Regions from separate parts of the Homo sapiens genome. Here region 1 is linked to region 2. The links are contacts of gene promoters, found by promoter capture Hi-C in blood cells and fetal thymus (Javierre and others, 2016). All regions are on one chromosome and are shown on one strand. Each heading gives the region's core, a stretch centred on a gene start or on the middle of the fragment in contact. The rest is flanking DNA. Distances are from core to core; before and after follow the strand shown. Region 1 overlaps LAPTM4A-DT (LAPTM4A divergent transcript). Region 2 holds the start of MATN3 (matrilin 3).

Region 1 (2,700 bases), core at 1-2,500, 98 kb before region 2:
TGAGAATAAAGCTTTTGGTATTGTACTTGCCATACAGTAAATCCTCCATAAATGGTGGCAGTTGTTAGCATTTCTGTAGTTCTGGATATTTTGGGTAGAGTCACCTGCCCAGGAGTTGGGGAAATGTCTGGATTTCATTACTGCACTGTACTGAGAGTTCACAGGGATGATTCACTAGGTAGAGGAACGCTCTGTAGATCAGAAGGGCCCACAGTGGGATGAGCTTCCGTAGGGTCAGGAGAGGCAGCCCAGAGGAAGTGAACTCACATCCGAGGGCAGCCACAGTAGCCCCCAACTCAAGGGCCTAAGCCCTGCCCCCGCCTTGAGCCCTCTGCTCACTTGTAGCCTCACTCCACAGCCCCAGTGAGAAGAATGCACGCCTGAGAGTGTCAGCATCACAGACGTGGTGCAGGAGGGCTCTGCTCTGTGGCTTTTGTGGAAGGTCAGCCCTGCCCCTGACTGCACAGGCAAGGTGGGCCCAGAATGGCATCAGGTTGGCCTGCATGGGAGGGTCTTGATACCAGGTTGAGGAGGCTGTACTTTCTGCAGCAGGACAGGAGCTGGAGGTGACAGAAGCAGAAGAAGCTAGCAGAGGGCTTGCTCGGGGAGCCAGGGAGAGATGGATGGGACCAGCTACACAGGAGGACTTCCCACCATCCCAGGGCCCGTGCTCCACATCTTCAGAGCCACCCTTTAGCAGGGCTTGCTAGGCTGGGCCAGCACTGTATTGAGGCTAGCACAGAGCATCAGCCTGCCTCGAGGCTGGGCCTAGGCCCCCTGGGAGCCAGGCCCCGGCACACTTGTGCTGTCTGGCAGGAAAACTCTCAACTGTTTTAACTGGATTTCCAGAGCTCTCAGGCTTGGGATGGGGACCTCAGGGAGAGAGGCTGGGGGAAGAACCAGGACATTTCCTGGGGCTTCGGCTGACTCAGGAGCTTCAAAAGCAAAATTGCTTCCAGTTTTTGTTTGCATAAAAGAAGCCGGTGGGAGGAGGAAGTAAGATCTGTCTGCTTGTGGACAAGGTCAAAGACCTGTAAGATTTCCAGGGGATGGAACCCCTTCTCAGGTGACCAGGCATTCCCACTATATGCCCTGGCGGCTTTGCTGGTCACAGCATGGCGGCAAATTACATGTTATTAGAGCAGTCCGGATAATGAAGTCACTGCAGACCTAATCCTATTTATTTCAATGACAGCTTTGGCAGAGCAGTAAATCTTGCTGCCAACCGTGTCTCTTGTGGCCAGTTCCCTGAAGGAACTACCATCAGATATGACTACAGGGAGGGGTCCTTGTTAGAGCCTACATTCGCTATTCGTCACCTTTTTCCTCCAAATGGCAAGTTCTCCCAGGAGAGCCTGCCCATGTGGCAGATTGTACTTTCAAAGTATATCTCATCTCACATGCTCTCCCTGACACTCTTCCCATTGAGTCCAGGAGAGGTATATGTCGCCTCTCCTTGTACCTTAGTGGAAGAAACTTTATGACTACCTTGATGAGTAGAAGTCATTGCAAAAGAGACACTATGTGACTTCCACAGCTAGGTCAGAAAAATGCCATGCACTTCTACCCAGTGATCTTGTATCCCTTGCTCTTGGAATCCAGCCACCATGCTGTGAGGAAGCCCAAGCCACACAGAGAGGCCACGGGCAGCTGTTCTGGCTGATGATTCCCCATTAGGGGAATCAGCACCAGCCACCAGACATGTGAATGAGGAGACTGTCCATATGCCTCCAACCCCAGACTGCAACTTCATGAAAGACCCTGCGTGAGAAGCACTCAGCTGAGGCCTGCCAGCCCCCAGAGCTGTGAGAGGTAATAAAATGATTATAGTTGTTTTAAGCCACTGTGATTTGGGGTGATTGGTTACATAGCAATAGATCACCAGAATACCCATGAACAGTGATAATGGACAGCCCTTGCCTCTCAGGCATCTCTTATTGAAAAATGGAAGTCCAATCCTTCCTTCCGAACTTGCCTTCTCAGGTTCTGAAACTTCCGACTATCAAGTGATTCAATCTCTCAAAGTGAGATTTGAAAGTGGGACTTCCAGGCCGGGCGCAGTGGCTCATGCCTGTAATCCTAGCACTTTGGGAGGCCGAGGCGGGCGGATCACAAGGTCAGGAGTGACCAATATGGTCACTCCTGAACCAGCCTGACCAATATGGTGAAAACCCGTCTCTACCAAAAATACAAAAATTAGCTGGGCATGGTGGCTTACATCTGTAGTCCCAGCTACTCTGGAGGCGGAGGCAGGAGAATCGCTTGAACCCAGGAGGCAGAGCTTGCAGTGAGCCGAGATTGCGCCACTGCACTCCAGCCTGGGTGACAAAGTGAGACTCTGTCTCAAAAAAAAAAAAAAAAAAAAAGTGGGACTTCCAGTTGTCAGAAGCTGTCAGAACACTCTCCTACTCACTTTCTTAAGGAAGTTAATCTCTTTAACATTTTTACTAAGAAAGGCAGTTATGATGCAAATTATTATGGAAAGCTTATGACTCAAACACCAGGTAGACCCAGGTACCATTCCTGATTCTGCCAGTTTCTGGCACTCTTTCCTGAGATGAGTCACTTTGCTTCTCTGTGCTTCAGGAGTCTCAGCTACAAAATGGGAAAACTCACACTGATCTTCTAGGATGCTATGATAATTAGAGATTTTTTACAAACAGTATTATTCTTAAAAAAAAAAGGGAGGGGATTTGATAC
Region 2 (2,700 bases), core at 165-2,664:
TAAGGTCCTTCTAAATTGGTGAGTTCTCAGTGGGAGTTGAGTGACCTTTTCCCTCAGTGTGACTATCACTGCCCAATGTCATTGATACATTATACAACTCCCCATCCCCACTTCCCCTCAGCTCCTGTTAACCACCATTCTTTCTGTCTCTATGAATTTGACTACTCTAGATTCCCCATGTAAATGGAATCATACAGTATTTGTCTTTTTGTGACTAGCTTATTTCACTTAACATAATACTCTCAAGGTTCATCCATTTTGTAGCATCTGCCAAAATTTCCTCCCTTTTAAGGCTGAACAGTATTCCATTGTACGTAGATACTGCATTTTGCTTTTCCATTCACACAAAGAGAGACACTTGGGTTGTTTCCGCCTCTTGGCTATTGTGTATAATGCTGCTACCAGCATGGGGTACAAATATGAGAAGTGAGGTTTAGGATCGTGTGAGGAGGATCACTTGTAGAGGGAAAATAGTGAAATAGGACGACCAGATAGGCTCTGTTGGAACTCGCGCCCATTGTTTTAAGACGCAGCTCAAATGTCACCTGGTTTTAGAAGTCTTCCTGGTCTCCGCAGGCAGTCAGTATCTCTTTCCTAAATCCACCACATTCCCGTAGACAGACACCACATTTATGCAAATCTCCTTCTCACAGACAGTGAGTTCCATGGGGGTCCCCTGGCAGCCTCCAGCCCTGTACCATGCTAACTCTTCCGGAGAGGAAATGGGGCCTCGGGAGAGCCTTTGAAGCCTGTGTTGGTACAGGCTGTCCTTCCAGCTAACGGGGCTCTCTGGGGAATGTATGTTTGACTTTCTATTCCCGGTAATATAAGTTCAAATGTTTGTGGATATTTGAAGCTCGGATGAAAGCGTTTCTATTCATGCCCCTAGAATCTGTGAGGCCTTTTCTTTCTTTTTTTTTTTTTAAACAAGAGCCCACAGCAAAACTTGGGTTACTTGGCTGAGGAAAGGAATGTAGAGCTAGGAGCAGGGTTTCATCTTCAGCCCCAGTCGGGCAAACCAGTGGCAGAAGGGAAAGCAGAGCCCAGGGGTCCCCATCCCGTACCTGGGGCGCAGGCCCCGCTGGGGTGGGAGGGAGAGTGGAGGGCCGGGCAGGCTGCAGCCGCGGATGGCTGCCCCCCCTGCCCCGGTGTTACTGGGAGGACGGAGGTTGCGACAGCAGCCGAGCCCACCCAGTTGCAGCCGGCTCGGGGCTTAGGGCAGGGGCGGGAGGTGACCACCGCGCCGCTGGCCGCCTCGCCCAGACATTCCGTTTCTGCCGCTGGAATGCGCGGACAAGGCTCCTTGTTGGCCTTGGGCGGGGTTCGCCGGGCCGGCCTGGCGCTCGAGGCCCCGGGGCGGGGCGGGGCCCGAGGCCGCGGGACCTTTAAATCCGAGCCTCGCGTGGGCTCCTGGCCCCCGACGGACACCACCAGGCCCACGGAGCCCACCATGCCGCGCCCGGCCCCCGCGCGCCGCCTCCCGGGACTCCTCCTGCTGCTCTGGCCGCTGCTGCTGCTGCCCTCCGCCGCCCCCGACCCCGTGGCCCGCCCGGGCTTCCGGAGGCTGGAGACCCGAGGTCCCGGGGGCAGCCCTGGACGCCGCCCCTCTCCTGCGGCTCCCGACGGCGCGCCCGCTTCCGGGACCAGCGAGCCTGGCCGCGCCCGCGGTGCAGGTACAGGCGGGCGGCGGGAGGGACGCGTGAGCATCGAACGAGGAGAAGCCCAGGGCATCCACCAAGCGCGCTTCATCCCGGCCTCAGGCCGACCGTGGTGCGGGGGAAAGAGGCCCCTCCCGGATGAATCCTGTGGGGGAAACTGAGGTCCAGAGAAGGGGAGGGAGATGCCCAATATCACTCATGTGTCCAGGCTAGAGATGTGGGTCTCCTGAAGCTCTCACTCCCCTGTGATTCGGCCAGGAGCACAGGGCAGCTGGGGAGCGCAGGGGCTGCTGCCCAGCGGCTGCTGCTAAGCTCCGTCCCAGTCCTGACCTCTCCATTCAGTGAGCAAACCCTTCCTGAGACTCTGCTGTTAGTTCTCTTGGAATCTCTCCATCTCCATCCAATATCAGGGCGTGATCTTTCCTCCCCTCCCACAGTCCTCAGGCTGCCTCAGACTGGAAGGTAAGGGATGCGGGTGTGAGACCAGGAGGAGATCCGAGGAGCCGTAGGATACCCCAGGATCAAGACACTCTGGGTCTTTGGCGAACAATTCTATTTCTCTTTTTGGTCAGCAATTGATTCCTGAAGCAGAGCAAAGCTCATAGTGCAGCGAAGCGGGCAGGTCGTCTGACACAGCCCCTGACAGCACATGAAGGGAAACTGAGGCATATCAAGTTGAAGGGACTCTGTGAATCAGTATCAGAGGCCACAATAAAATTCAGGGCTCCGAAATCCCAAGCAAGGTCTCTTTCCACTGCCCCAGCCTACCAACCTCTTAATATGGTTTACATAAGATTGTATCTTCATTTCCAAAAAGCGCAGCTTCAGTCTTGCTAAAAAGAGTCTGTGCCAGGCCATTTCTGGGTATGCAGTCTCATTTGGCCAGCCACGCTGCATGCCTCAGGCTGATTTCAATTGTCTATCCCCTTCTGCATCTTTCTGGATAAGCTGAGAAGGAGCTCAAGGGACTCTTTCCTGACTCAAATACTCAGTCCCCGTATTTGAAGTGGCAGATTTGAAATGGCAAAAGCATTGCTGCTAA

Evidence for each region. The method cuts DNA at HindIII sites, captures the fragments that hold promoters and counts their contacts. A CHiCAGO score of 5 or more calls a contact.
Region 1: a contact is called between a fragment that was not itself captured here and the fragment with the promoter of MATN3 in region 2, in 6 of 17 cell types (monocytes, M0 macrophages, total B cells and 3 more). The highest score is 6.3, in monocytes.

What each region holds. Positions count from the first base shown.
Region 1 is chr2:20,109,515-20,112,214 of GRCh38, reverse strand. The region is part of intron 2 of LAPTM4A-DT (LAPTM4A divergent transcript); the gene reads right to left. Among named protein-coding and RNA genes, the nearest start is that of LAPTM4A-DT, 59 kb to the right of the region's middle. The HindIII fragment of the contact is 2,474 bases long and covers 14-2,487 here.
Region 2 is chr2:20,011,382-20,014,081 of GRCh38, reverse strand. It overlaps MATN3 (matrilin 3), which reads left to right and starts at 1,414. Exons shown (of 8, transcript NM_002381.5): 1 at 1,414-1,673. The coding sequence starts at 1,451. RefSeq lists an enhancer at 1,698-2,310. The HindIII fragment of the contact is 3,809 bases long and covers 1-2,700 here.